Regions from separate parts of the Homo sapiens genome. Here regions 1, 3, 4 and 5 are each linked to region 2. Evidence: promoter capture Hi-C in 16 types of primary human blood cells and fetal thymus (Javierre and others, 2016). All regions are on one chromosome and are shown on one strand. The core of a region is centred on a gene start or on the middle of the fragment in contact, and the rest is flanking DNA. Distances in the headings are between cores, read along the strand shown. Region 1 overlaps DAP-DT (DAP divergent transcript). Region 2 holds the start of TENT4A (terminal nucleotidyltransferase 4A). Region 3 holds the start of ROPN1L-AS1 (ROPN1L antisense RNA 1). Region 4 holds the start of MRPL36 (mitochondrial ribosomal protein L36). Region 5 overlaps CCT5 (chaperonin containing TCP1 subunit 5).

Region 1 (2,700 bases), core at 109-2,608, 4.1 Mb before region 2:
AAATCCAGCTACAGATCCAATTTCTCCATCAAAAAAGGGCAGAGAACCCCCTGTGTCTCAGGATCCTGTAGGGGGTAAGTGGGGTGACACGGAGCTGTACGGGCATAATCATGTTTAGTCAAAGCCCTTAATTCTCACAACCTTCCTGGGAGAGGCATTAGTGTTCACATCTCTGACTTGCAGATGAGGACACTGAGACTCAGAAAGGTTTAGTGATGTAGCCACGGACACAAAATACACATCTGGAGAAGAGAATCTGCATTTTCCGTTTCTTCTTCAAATACTTTTTCCAGGGCTTACAGCATTCACACTAAGTGAATTTACCACCATTTGGGATTAGAAAACAGCCTATTTATGGGTGGATCATCTGAGCTCAAGAATTCAAGACCAGCCTGGGTAACATGGCAAATCCCCGCCGCTACCAGAAATACGAAGAATTAGCTGGGCGTGGTGGCATGGGCCTGTAGTCCCAGCTACTTGGGAGGCTGCGGTGGGACAAACACCTGAGCCTGGGAGGCAGAGGTTGCAGTGAACTGAGATCGTGCCACTGCACTCCAGCAGGGGTGACAGAGTGAGACCCCATCTAAAGAGACCCCATCTTAAAAAAAAAAAAAAAAAAGAGAGAAAACAGCCTATTTAGAGAAGAAAAGAAAATGGTTCCCAAAACTCTGTTTAGAAGTCAGCCCTCACTTGGGGGAATGGAACTGGGGCTTAGAAAATCCAGCCTGGGTCCCAGGTCACACTCACCAGAGTTGCATCCCACATAAGTCCAACAATCCTTCTCTTCTCCATTTTGTTTGTTTGTTTTTGTTTTCCTTGGTACATCTTACTCCTACTGTTATTGTGAGATGCAAATAAGATTATTCATTCAACAATTCTCATCCTATCTACTGAGTATGTACATCTACATAGAACATCTACATAGTACATCTATATCACCAGTGGGTGATGCCTGACATTTATCCTCAGCATCTAGGGCTGGAGGGGCTGGACACTCCCATGCATGCATGCACACACGTGTGCACACACATATGCACACACAAAGTATTTACAAGATAAAGCAAATGTCAGAAAAGATCACTGGCCATGTGCCATCTATATGCTATATACATTTTTCATTCTCTGTTTAGTCATCATTGGCTACTCTTCATTTAGGTAGCAGTTGTGAGAAATTAAATGTATCTATGTTCTAGAATTATGGGGAGAAAATAACTGTTGAATGCTTCTTCTGTGCCCACCATGGTTTTAGGTGCTGGGAATACCTAGTGGGCAAGATGGATTAGGTTTCTCCCCTCATGGAGCTGACATTCTAGTCAGTGGAGAAAAACAATAAGCCAGCAGACAGATAAATGAGGAATTTCAGATGAGGATAGAGTGCTATAAAGACAGTAAGACAGAGCAGGCCCCTTGAAAAGCTGATTCCAGAATAAGAAGAAGTTAACTACGCGAGGATCTGGAAGAGACAGTTCTCGGCAGTGGTGTTGTAGGACTTTCTTGTTAGCCTAGCTAAAAAGAGCGTCCTTGTCACATAACCACGAAAGATTAGGCTCACAGACACTTTGAAGGGTGGGGAAAATGGAATTTATTAGGCAAAAAGGAAAAAAAGGAAACAGGGACTTTCAGCAAAGCAAGAGTCCTGCTAGCCGGTTTCCCGCGTCACAGATTGAATCCCAGATTCCACCCGGGAAGAGGTCAGGCTCCTCTCCCCTGTAAAGGGCGTGAACTTCTGTGGCTCCACCCCATCTTCCGGTGTGCAGGTAGTCAGAGTTTCTCTGCGGACCCCTTTATGCTTGGCTGTCTCAGTGGGAGTGGCTAACACAAAGTCCCAAGGGGAAGAATTGGCTTGTCCTGCTAGAGGAACCTCAGAAAGGCCAGTGTGGCCAGAGGAGCCAAGAGGGAGGAGCTCACAACTGGGCAGGACCCCCATCATGCAGGGTCTGGTAGGCCATGTGTGCTAGGGGTTGCATTTGGCTGCCCATGAAGACACCAACCACAAGGACTTTATTTAATAGAAATTTGTTTCCCACACAACAAAAAAGTCTGGACGAGGAGTCCACAGCTCTGAAGCGCCTCCATGGACCCTCAGATTCCCACATGCCTTTGACCTTCCTGCTCTGTCACCTTTAGCTTGTGATTTTCATGCCTTTGATTGCCTCACAGTTGCGATATGATTGTTCTACCTTTGGCCTTCTGTCTGAATTCAAGGTGGTACAAATGATGTCACCAGGAGGAAGGGGTGTCCCCATATTAAGAATGTAAATTTTCCCCAAAACACCCCAGCAGATTTCCATGGTCAAAACTGTGTCACTTGGCTACCCCTAGCTACAAGGGAAGCTGAAAAATAAATGTCTTTTTTTTGCGAAGTTCACTACCTTCTTAACAGTATTTCCTTCATTAGAAATGCTATTGAGTAGACAGATTATTCCACACTGTAATGAGTAGCTTGGATTGTATTCTAGAGGAGAAGCTATTTGCCGATAGGTGGGAAATCAAGAGTTCTTTGAAGATGTAAAATTAACTTGGCTGTCACACTGTCAGGAGCAGAATGTACCTGAATCACGTAGCACCCAAATATAATACGTTAGTGGCAGTGAATCTGTACAGGTCTGCAGCAACCTCAATTCTTGCCTCTTCAGAAGGAAGAATTCAACTGAGGGGTATAAAGCAGAAAGAGAGACTGAGGCAACTTTAAAGGAGGAG
Region 2 (2,700 bases), core at 148-2,647:
GGGCCTTGGCCTTAGCCTTCAACATCCATCCTCCAAAAGCCCGGGCGCCTGGGACGGGTGTCTGCACCGCGGGCGCCGGCCAGGACCATGGGCCCCGCCCCCGCCCCCGCGGCCTCCCCGCGCACTCACCCCTGGATGCCCGGGCTGTACGCGCGGCTCTTCCACGGGGTGCCGGGCCGCGGCGCCTGGGCCCCGGGGCCGCCCCCTCCGCTGAGAGCGGCCGCGCGGCTGCCGGACAGCAGGTAGTTGAGGCCGTAGGTGCTGGCCTTGTTCTCGCGTTTCCGGCGACCCGGGTGGAACTGGTGCTGCGACGGGGAGCCGGCGGGCGCGGGGCCGCGCGGCCCGGGGTGCCCGTTGGCTGTGCCAGGGGCGCTGGGCGCGCCGTCGGCGAAGTTGAAGAAGGCGCCGCCGCGGCCGCCGCCCGGCCGGCCCAGCGAGGCGCTGCTGGAGGACGACGACGAGCAGCCGGGGCTCTCGGTGCCCGACTCCGCGTTGGACGAGGAGGACGACGACGAGGACGACAGCGACGGCGACTTGTGCAAGCGCCGCGCGCCCTCGGCCGCGGGCCCCAGCGCCGTCAGCAGCGCGGGGGGCAGCGCGGCGGGCGCGGTGGGGCCGGGCGGCGGGGGCGACGCGGCGGGCAGCGCGGGGCCCAGGCCGCCACTGCCCCGCCCGGCCGCCCCCGCCGCGGCCGCCGTGTCCAGCGCCGGCGAGTTGAGGCAGAAATAGGACGCGAAGCCCGAGCCGCCGCGGCCCACGCCCTGCGAGGTCTCCCAGATCTGCATCCACAGGGCATTGGCCGGCCCCTTCTGCTCGGGCTGGATCCAGGCCACGCGCGGATCCATCCACGCGCCGCCCCCGCGGGGCCCGCGCGCCCGCCCGCCCCGACGCGGCCCCGCCCCCGCCGCGCCCCGAGGCCCGGCCGCGCGCGCACGGACGGACGGACGGGCCTGGGCCGGTGGCGGCGGCGGCGGCGGCGGCGGCGGGCGGGCCGAGCCCCGGCCTCCTGCTCTAGCCGCGCTCCCGTCGGGCTCCGGCGTGGGGCGGCGGCGGCGGTGATGGGCCCCGGCAGGCCGCGGCGGGCGGCTCCGGCGCTTGGCGCGTCCCAGCGGGCGGCTGCGGTCTCCGGGCTCCCGCTTCACGCGGCGCGGGGCGGGCGCGGGGGCCGCGGCGGCGGCGGCGTTCCACTCGGGCCGCGGGGAGAGGCCATCGGAGAAGGGCGGGCGGCGGGGCCGAGGGGGCGGGCCCAGGCGCCGAGCGGCTGAAGGACCCGCGGGAGGCGCCGCCGCCCGTGCGGCTAGCCCTCAGTCACGCTCGCGCCGCTGGCTCGGCGCTCCTGCGGCGGCGGCGGCGGCGGCGGTGAAAAGACACTCTCGGCGGCGACAGCGCGGGGGAAGGAGGGGGCCGCCGCCGCGTCCGCTCCAATGAGGGGCGGGGGAGGGGGCGGGGACGGGGGCGGCAGGAGGAAGCGCGGCCTCGGTCGCCGGGCCGTGTCGCCGGTGCGCACGCGCGACCGATTTCAAATCCTCACTAGACACTGCCGCCGTGGTTACCGCGCCTGCGCGTTGGGGCCCCGTCGGCCGCGGGCGGGGTGAGGACGGCGTCAGAAGCTACGCGACTGGGAGGGGCTGGAGGGAGAGGCGGTGGCGTTGAGCCATTACTGACTAGGCCGGCGTTGGGTGGAATAGGCAGCGGCTGGAAGGCCCGCACGCCGCCCTCGGCCCGCCGCGGCGCGCAGACCCCGGCGTGCAGACATGCGCGCTAGGGCCGGTGTCACCGGGCTGCCGCCTGAGCCGCGCTGCGCGTGCGCAGGGCAGCGTGGCCGTCACCGCCGCCGGTGGAAGTTTCCGAGCAGCCGGGCGGGGGCAGCGGACGCCACCGCAGGCGCTTCCCCCGCCGGCCGGCCCTCCCTCCTGACGTAAGGGCGGGCCCCGGTCGCAGATCCCGCCCCAGGTCTCTCATCCGAGGGTCCGTGCAGCAGGTCACGCTGCGCTCTCTGGGGTCCGCGCGTCGGCCCACGTGCTCCCTGCACCTCGCGGGGTGAGCGGCCAGCGTGCCGTGCCGGGTGGCTGGCTCCGCCGCTCCGGAGCCGGGAAGGACACGCGGCAGAGTCCTGCTCCCTAGCGGGTCTGCTTACAGGCGTTTGGTTTGCTTTTTAAAATGATTTTCTATGCGAAAAGTGAAGTGAAAACTTCCAAGTTAATTCCCTGGGCAAAATGGGCAGTGCTAGCCGAGGAACGGCTGGTGGGCGGCGCGTCCGGCCCCCGGCTTCGGTTTTTCCAGCTGCACCGAGCGGGCAGGAGTCAGTGGGAAACCGCCCGCCATCCACAGCCTGCCGTTTGCCATCCCGGTGTCCCGAGCGCGATGGAAGCCGGGTTGACAGTGGCACTGTTTGGAATACAGCGCCAACCACACATCCTGTGAGGTCCAAAGCAAACGCCAGTGTCGTTGATCATCGCGGTGCCCCGCGAGCCTGGGCGACGTGAGGCCCCGCGGCTGCCGCCCTGTCTTCAGGCGGAGTCCCCGCAAATGCACTCCCGGGCCAGGGCCCTGAAGCTGCCTTAGCCCAGTGGCGCCCGGGCTCCAAGCCTTTTAAGTAGAACGGGACCTGGCCTTCGTACAGGCGTGTTGTAAATGCTACCCCCTCGTCTCCAGCACAGATGAGTAGACATTACTAAGCACTTGACCCTTCAAACATCG
Region 3 (2,700 bases), core at 200-2,699, 3.7 Mb before region 2:
ATTTGTTACAGCAGCCAAACGAAACTAATTCACTTTGGTTATAGAGTTTAAAGCCAGCAAAATTTGGCTGTTTTTTTTCTTTTTAAATTAGTTTTCTTATTAAAAAAAATACAGATGGGGTCTTGCTGTGTTACCCAGGCTGGTCTCAAACTCTTGGGCTCAAGTGATCCTCCCAGCTTGGCCTCCCAAAGTGCTGGGATTACAGGCATGAACCACCAAGCCCAGCCAAAATTTGAAATGTTGATGACTAAAATATTTAAATTAAATTTACACCTGTGCTGACTCTTGTCATCATAAAAGTGAGTTTTTGTTTTACATCTGTTTATTGAAAAGGGGCAAAGAGCTCTCCTGTAAAACCAAGAGGATTTCTTTTAATGCCTCTAAGATCTGTTGACTTGTAACTTTGAGATTATGAATGTCTGTTCCTGGCAAGTGTTGGAATGTTTGTGGCAAAAAATAAACTGTGAAGCTTCATTTGCTGGACAGTTTACCCTGAGCACTCTAGGGATGATGACCTCAGTATGACCACGGTCGTTCCGGTTCTAATAAATTTAACCAGCTCTGGGTATACATAGCTCTGAGAGGACTCTCTGCAGATGAGGAACTTAGCTAAAATATTCCTCTTTGTAAAGTCATTTCACAAAGTGACTGCAACCGTGTAATTTTTTTAACATAATGTAAACACTTTTTTGCCCAATGCAATTACTTTGTTAAGTTTTAGTCTATCTTCATCATAAACACTTTTAAACAATTGAGTTGCCATTACGTTGTAGGTAAGTGAGCATTTTGCAATGATTTCGGGTCTCATAGTCGATAAATCGAAATGGTTCCTAGATAAAACACTCAAGTATAGATGTCACCAATGCTAAGGGGAAAGTTTTGCCTGATACTCTTAAGGACGCTGAGTGCCGCGTAAGGCCCCTGGTCCGGGAGGAGGGCTCTCTGGGCTCGTCTGGCTTGGGCATGTAGACCGGACAGCTCCCCGGGCCAAGGGCGCTTACCCCGCGGACCACCGCAGCACGTCGGCCGGCTGGGTGCGGATGGCAGCCTTGGTGAATTGCTTCAGGATGTCCGGCAGCTCCGGGGGAATGTGGATCTGCTGAGCGCAGAACATGGTGTCGGGAAGCGGCATCGCTCTCCGCAGAAGGGACCAGGCTGGTGAATCGCGGCGCGCTGCGAGGAAGAAGGGCGGCTGTCGGCTACGACGCGGTGGACCCGCTAGCAGCGCGGGGCTTGCGGCCAGGGCCGCCTCCCATCCCGTTCCCGAGGTTGGGGCCGGATTCGCGGGGCTCTTACCCGCTCCTCCGCGGGCTTCGGGAGAAATTCGGACCAACTGCCACTCCGACAACACCCTAGACCCTGCAGTTCCCTAGCGCCAGCCGCCACTACGGACGCGCTCGGTATCCAGGCACCCGGGACGCGAGCAGGCCCCGCCCCTGGAGCCGCGCACGCGCACGCGGCCCTGAGCGAGGCGGGGCTGCTCCCGGGCTGGACAAGGAGGTGCTGGCGTAGTCCGACTAGCAGCAGCCGCTGCTCCCCGGTGGTTCAGAGCCGCGCGAGCTGAGCGTTTCGCCTACAAAAGCATCTTCGGATCGGTTTCCCACCGCCGAATGTGAGCGGCGAACTCACGAAGGACTCCCTCTTCCCCTTGCTCTGGCTGCGTGAGGCTGAGGCTAGGGGACTCGGGCCTGCTAGGAGGGAAGCGGGTTAAGTGAAGGGGCTGATCGCCTGGGCGGCACGGGCCCCGCTGCGGGACCCGCCTGCGCCTGGGGCCGCTCCTCCAAACTTCTCGGGCTTCGAACTTCGCACATGCTGTTCCCTGGCCTAAGCCATCCCGTAGTGAACCTGAGTTCTTAATTTAAAAAGCCGCTTAGACAGTGGGCAGTTTCCAGCTAAAACACTATTGTATTTGTTTTCTTACGATAGGTTGCTTGAGCCAATGTGACTGGCTCTAGGAGGAAATAAATCACATCTGTCAAAAGAGCCTCGAGTCGAAGGATAGGAGAAACCTCGAATTTGGTGGGTGCTGACCAAGGCACCATGCAAGGGGTTAACTTTGCTTTAGGGGGTGACCTGGCTGGCTGCTGCAGTTGCCGTTAACAGCCACCGAATGGATGAGACTCCAGATCCACCTCCTCCTGCGTTCCTCAAAACAGGAAGATGGAGAACTACGGAGAGCTACTTCCCAGAGGGGCCGATGGCAAGCACTCCCTTCAAGGAAACTGGGGAAGTTGCCCGATTTTGATCGTTTCCATCCAAACACCCACCAGACAATATATACATACACATTTCTAAATTAACAGCATTGGCAAAAACTGAAAATACTTGTATTTAAAGTTGATGACAGTATGAAAACAAGAAATCCGTCCGGGCGCGGTGGGTCACGCCTGTAACCCCAGCACTGATCACAAGGTCAGGAGTTCGAGACTAGCCTGGCTAACATGGTGAAACCCCCTTCTCTACAAAAATTGGCTGGGCGTAGTGGCGCGTGCCTGTATTCCCAGCTACTTGGGAGGCTGAGGCAGGAGAATAGCTTGAGCCCGGGAGGTGGAGGTTGCCGTGAGCAGAAATGGCACCACTGCACTCCAGCCTGGGCGACAGAGTAAGACTCTGTCCCCGCCCCCCTCCACCCAAAAAAAGAAAAAAAAAAAAAGGAATCTTCTATGTTGTTGAGAGGGATGTTAATTAGTACCTTTATGG
Region 4 (2,700 bases), core at 143-2,642, 4.9 Mb after region 2:
TAAAAATGCCCCTGATTACACCGAGTACTGTGCGCTTGTTTGACTTTTCATCAATGGCCTAAAAGTTAAGCGGCCCCGTTGCGCCGGCAGGTGCAGCCTCATGCAGTTGCAGCCGCAGGCTAGAGCTAGGGCCCTGATGAGGCAGGCAATGGTGTGCGAAACCTTCAGCGATTAGGAGTACCCAGTGGTTCTTATTTAGCGGACAGGCAGGGGAGGATGTAAACTGAAAATACATTGTTTATATTCTTATGGTAACCGATAATCATGAGACATTTAAATATCAAAATTATTGGGTGAAGGAGTCAACTGCTTAGCAGACGAGACTGGAAGTGCATTCTCCTCGTTCAAGGCAAGCGTTCCTGTGTGTGGTTACGGGGAGCCGCAGAGGAAACGTATATTGGGGATTTCTGCAACAAAGCCTAGTACACCGACTGATTTTACAGCATGCAAATACAGCCTCTAAAAAGGCCCGTTTTGCTTAGAGTTGACTTGGGTATAAATCCCAGCTTAAGCTCCAGCATCCAGCTTTTCTTTTGCTGTGGTCAGAGCCTGAGGACCACGTGACTCCAAGAACAAAACACTAGAGATGGATGAGTGGCGGGGAAGATGATAAAGAGGAGGAAAGGCATGAGAAACAAGAATGCACATGAAAACCTCCGGTCCCAAAGATGTCCCAGCAAACGTGGTGGTCAGAGGCAGATTTGTCCTGGAGCTGATAAACTCCAGCGGCCCGCCCGGTGTTCGCCGGGTCAGGTGGAAAAAGTGGGCGCTGCGATGAAGCGTTGGGGCCTGCAGGGAGCGCGGAGTGGACGCAGCCACGTCTGCAACTCACCCGGACACACACAAAAAGGAAGGCGAATGGAGTTACGGGTAGATACCTGAAAAGGCAGGGATAAGCGAGCTAAGGGTAGAATCTAGGTGGCAAGTATATGGGTGTTCACCGTACAGTTCTTTCCCTTTTTCTCTATGTCCGAAGTTTTTCATAATGTTGGGGAAAACAGCCGTAACCAGTTGAAACTACTGCCCGTCTCCACTCGTTTCCCGGAGCCTGTTTACATTTCTCCTGTCCACTTAAAAACATGTCCTCTTTCTCAGTTTGTTTTGACATTGGTATTTGCCAGTTTTTTCTAAGGCCTAAGTGGTTGTAATTTCTTTTTCGTTGCGGATATCCATTTTCGTTCCTGGTTTTTGCATTTTTTTTCCCGAGAGCGCTCCAAACAGCACGACGATCCCGGTGGCCCGCAGAGTGCGCGCAGTCGGGGAGTGATACGTCGCACTCCAGCGCCTGCGCACTCGCTGCTGCGTCTCTGCGCCCCGCACTGGACGTGGGCACGCCACGTGACCCCCCCCCCCGCCGCCATCTTCCTTCCTGGCAGCAGCGTCCGCGTGCCAGTGCGCAGACGCAGGGGTCGGCGCCGGGTGAGAGCGTGCGGCCGGGTAAGGGAGCCGTCTTCTCAGGTCAGGGGTCCCGGGTGTCTTGAGAGTGGGGGCTGCGAGAGGGTGGGGCCGGCCACCTTGGGACCCTCGGGCGTGTCTCCCCGAGTGGGCTGCGGTCAGAGGAGCGTGGGCCGGGGCCTGGCGGTCTCAGAGGGCCAGGGTTGGGGGGTGCGGGTCCGACCGTGGGCGCCCGACCTGGCGACAGGAGGGGGTGTCCAGCGACCCCGGGGCGGGAGAACTGGCGGCTCCCGAACGCGACCTCACAGCCCGCGCGCAGGGCCGGCTCCGGTGCCGCAGTGTCCTCCGGGCCCTGCAGGCCCAGCTCTTCCCAGCCGGGGCCGCTGAACCCTAAGGGCCGGGGCGCGTGGGGAAGCAGGGGCGGGCGACCGGGGTGCCAGAGTTCCGTGCTCTTCCGGAGCGGGGGCCTGTCCCGAAACTGGCCCGAGGGAGGGCCCCTGGGTCTGGGAAGAGTTGGAGGGAGGAGCTCATCAGTTGAACCGTCCTTGACCTGGTGTCTGTTTGGAAAGGGATGCGGCCTAAGTTTAAGCTCCCTCCCAGCCAAGTGAGCGGCTCCTCAACATCGCAGGGCTTTGCACACTCACCTACACTTGCAGCAGGCGGGAAAGGGAAGGAAGCCACCGTCCACTGCCCCTTATTCTCCTGGCACACTTGGCTGATTAAGGCAGTGTTCAAGCTCAGGTCGAGGCTGCAGCTGGTATGGGAACACCCTCAGTCCCCGAGGTCCCTGCCTTCCCAAGCCTCAGTGAAACAGAGAAAAGGAAGCCTTAAAGAGCAGGTGGAAGTGCAGGAGAAGCTATAACTCCTTTTTTTCTCTCTCCCATAGATTCACCACAACATGGCAAATCTTTTTATAAGGAAAATGGTGAACCCTCTGCTCTATCTCAGTCGTCACACGGTGAAGCCTCGAGCCCTCTCCACATTTCTATTTGGATCCATTCGAGGTGCAGCCCCCGTGGCTGTGGAACCCGGGGCAGCAGTGCGCTCACTTCTCTCACCCGGCCTCCTGCCCCATCTGCTGCCTGCGCTGGGGTTCAAAAACAAGACTGTCCTTAAGAAGCGCTGCAAGGACTGTTACCTGGTGAAGAGGCGGGGTCGGTGGTACGTCTACTGTAAAACCCATCCGAGGCACAAGCAGAGACAGATGTAGACCCTTTCCCTCCAGAGTCACGCACATACTCGTCATCGCATCACTTGGGAGAATGGTTGTATCTTATGGAAGGAATTATCACATCAAGGAGTCAG
Region 5 (2,704 bases), core at 171-2,670, 3.5 Mb before region 2:
GGCTTCTGCTCTAACATAGGCTTTGCTCAGGGGAAAAGGCAACAGAAGCAGACACTTTTCCTGCATTTTCCCTGACTACTCTGAGTTTAGAAGATCCCTCATTCCTTTTTGCTAAAACCACCACAAGCACACAATTGAAAACATCTCTCACTGATTTAATATAATGTAATAAAGCAGCTTACACTGGATTTTTATGTTATATTACGGCAACAGACCTTAAGTCTTTGGCATTGTACATAATCAGCGCACCCCTTGGCTGAGGTTGCTTAGAGTCTCCTGGGAGAAGAGCTGTGTCTTAGTGCCCATAAGACCTGGCAGTAAGCCTGGCAAACGGACATTACACGAACGCTGAAAACACCAGAGACAAGTCGCTTTCAAGACTCTCTTTACTAAATTATAATTTTGGATCGGCAATTTGCTGAATAAAAAGTGGAACCCACCCCCAATGGCTCCCCAGCAAAGAAATTATAGAAAGAAGTGTTAAGAAAATTCACATATCCTCCAGGTAGGACCCTTTCTAGTTGACTTTTTTTTTTTTTTGAGACAGGGTCTCGCTCTGTTGCTCAAGCTGGAGTGCAGTGGCATGATCATGGCTTGCTGCAGCCTCGACCTCTCACCTCAGCCTCTGGAGTTGCTGAAGTGTGTGCTACCATGCCTGGCTAGTTTTTTGTTTTGTAGCGATGGGGTCCCACTACATTGCCCTGGCTGGTCTTCAATTCCTGAGCTCAAGCAAGCTACTGCTTTGGCCTCCTAAAGTGCTGAGATTACAAGTATGAGCCACTGCATCCAGCCTTAGCTGATTTTTAACACAACCTATTCTGCTAAATTAAAATAACTATATTTTGCAAATATTGTCAAGGGGATTTATACCTGAACTTAGAAATTCAGTTCTCAACTTAAATACAAAATGCATCTGTCTACATCTACATTAAAAACAAAGCAAAACCAAGTAATCAAAACAAATAATCAAATCGATACAAATCCACCAGTGGTCATTTTGTGTTGCCTTTAAGAAATGGCAAACAAACTGCCTCCTCTACAAATGGGTAATCATATCATCTACTGAAACGTACACTTTGGAGCCCAGCGTGGTTTTTGCTGTCTGAATCAGGGGTTCGGTGTCCTTTATGTCAACAAGGACGCTATCGCTGATCTTGTCCAGGTGTTCAATAGCAACACGAGCAGCCTGCTCATAGCCATCGGCTATTCTGATTGGGTGAATGCCTCGGTCTAGCAATTGCTCCGCTTCTTCTAACAAGGCACCAGCCAGGACTGCAAATAAGCCAGCAGACAATCAGTTCAGGCAAACAACAAAACTTCACTTTTAGTATAATCAGCACAAGTTAGATGCTATCATGGAAAGAAGCAGCTTCTAGAATTAAGCTGCAAGTCATCTTAGAGGCAGAAGCCCTCTATTTTTAAAAGAAAGCCTCGTTTTAGTTCTAGCGAAGGTCGAATAGGACATGTGTCCCCTTACAGATGAACATTCAACCCTCAGTGATGTGAAGAACGTAACTAAAGAATATAATGTAAAAAGAACATTTTTCTAAGAGGTAAAAAGCTATTATGTTTCCTGGGCCAGGGTCTACTCAGTGAAATTCAGCCTGGTGATGAGACTAAAACGTGTTTATTATTTATTCCCCCCACCCCCATCCTCCTTTCTCCTCATTTTAGGGTCGCAAAGATGAATTTTGTTTAAATCTACAGCTCTCCAAGCGCACCGAGAACAGTGCTTGGCATACAATAGTATCCAATAAATATTTGTTGAATGAATTCAAATTTCATCTGCAGAAAAGGTAACCTTACTGATATTTTGTCTTCAATCTCCCCAACTTTTTAAAGATTTCAAATCTTCAGAAAAAAAAGGTACAATACTAAAACGAATACCAGTTTACTTATTAACATTTTGCCACATTTTCTCTACATGTACATACTGTTTCTGTTCAACTATTTGAGAATTAGTTACAGAAACCATGACATGTCACTCCTAAGTATTTAGGTATACAGCTGAGAAGAAGGGCATTCTCCTACACATCTGCAATATAATGGTCACAGATCACTCAGGAAACTCAGCATTGCAGTACATGATCCAAAATCAAATTCTTCCACGTTTCCCAAACATCCTTTATAGCTTAAAAGACAAGCAAAATCAGTGTCCAATCAATCATTACACATTTCTCCATGCCTAACAATCCCCAGCCCTCTTTCTGTTCTTTTGTAACACTGTCAGTTTTGAAAGTCCGACATTTGTTTTGTAGCATGTTTTCAACTTGGATTTGTCTGTCTCCTCATGCTCTGATTCAGAGACAACAATCTCAGCAGGCATGTTAGCCCTGTGGTCTTAAATGACGTCTCTTAAATGAGAAAGGATGTTTTGTCTTTTCTTACCAACCACTCCTGTGGTTCCATCTCCAATTTCATCATCCTGAGACTTGGACAGTTCCACCATCAGCTTGGCAATCTGATGATCAACATCCATCATGCTTAAGATGGTGGCCCCATCATTAGTTACAGTCACATCTCCATCCTTATCCACCATCATCTTATCAAGCCCTAAAAAACAACGTTTAGTAGGCTTTGCGCAAAAAACTGGCAACCAATATCACAAACTATAAAACAAGACCTCCTGACCCAGCTCTTATCTGTGCAATTTATTATATACAAATAATGCAACATACACAAAATAGTAGCTGCATGAAGGCAT

What was found. Contacts are between HindIII fragments. The CHiCAGO score rates a contact against its expected background, and 5 or more counts as called.
Region 1: a contact is called between a fragment that was not itself captured here and the fragment with the promoter of TENT4A in region 2, in 1 of 17 cell types (non-activated CD4 T cells). The highest score is 6.3, in non-activated CD4 T cells.
Region 3: a contact is called between the fragment with the promoter of ROPN1L-AS1 here and the fragment with the promoter of TENT4A in region 2, in 1 of 17 cell types (total CD4 T cells). The highest score is 6.8, in total CD4 T cells.
Region 4: a contact is called between the fragment with the promoter of MRPL36 here and the fragment with the promoter of TENT4A in region 2, in 1 of 17 cell types (erythroblasts). The highest score is 8.4, in erythroblasts.
Region 5: a fragment that was not itself captured here is called in contact with the fragment with the promoter of TENT4A in region 2 in 1 of 17 cell types (neutrophils); the score reaches 7.6 in neutrophils.

What each region holds. Positions count from the first base shown.
Region 1 is chr5:10,764,466-10,767,165 of GRCh38, reverse strand. The region is part of intron 1 of DAP-DT (DAP divergent transcript); the gene reads right to left. Among named protein-coding and RNA genes, the nearest start is that of DAP, 4.6 kb to the right of the region's middle. The HindIII fragment of the contact is 2,724 bases long and covers 1-2,700 here.
Region 2 is chr5:6,712,129-6,714,828 of GRCh38, reverse strand. It overlaps TENT4A (terminal nucleotidyltransferase 4A), which reads right to left and starts at 1,397. Exons shown (of 13, transcript NM_006999.6): 1 at 130-1,397. The coding sequence starts at 845. RefSeq lists silencers at 29-418, 789-858, 1,159-1,528, 1,639-2,078 and an enhancer at 2,249-2,308. The HindIII fragment of the contact is 9,360 bases long and covers 1-2,700 here.
Region 3 is chr5:10,440,600-10,443,299 of GRCh38, reverse strand. It overlaps ROPN1L-AS1 (ROPN1L antisense RNA 1), which reads left to right and starts at 1,449. Exons shown (of 2, transcript NR_102746.1): 1 at 1,449-1,612; 2 at 1,927-2,565. ROPN1L (rhophilin associated tail protein 1 like) reads right to left here and starts at 1,421. Exons shown (of 5, transcript NM_031916.5): 1 at 1,002-1,421. The coding sequence starts at 1,132. RefSeq lists a silencer at 1,308-1,567. The HindIII fragment of the contact is 3,763 bases long and covers 472-2,700 here.
Region 4 is chr5:1,798,529-1,801,228 of GRCh38, reverse strand. It overlaps MRPL36 (mitochondrial ribosomal protein L36), which reads left to right and starts at 1,392. Exons shown (of 2, transcript NM_032479.4): 1 at 1,392-1,437; 2 at 2,282-2,700. The coding sequence starts at 2,294. The coding sequence ends at 2,605. RefSeq lists enhancers at 1-13, 193-322, 383-432 and a silencer at 1,513-1,922. The HindIII fragment of the contact is 7,489 bases long and covers 1-2,700 here.
Region 5 is chr5:10,254,523-10,257,226 of GRCh38, reverse strand. It overlaps CCT5 (chaperonin containing TCP1 subunit 5), which reads right to left. Exons shown (of 11, transcript NM_012073.5): 3 at 2,389-2,553; 4 at 1,074-1,272. Among named protein-coding and RNA genes, the nearest start is that of CCT5, 5.6 kb to the right of the region's middle. The HindIII fragment of the contact is 3,553 bases long and covers 1-2,704 here.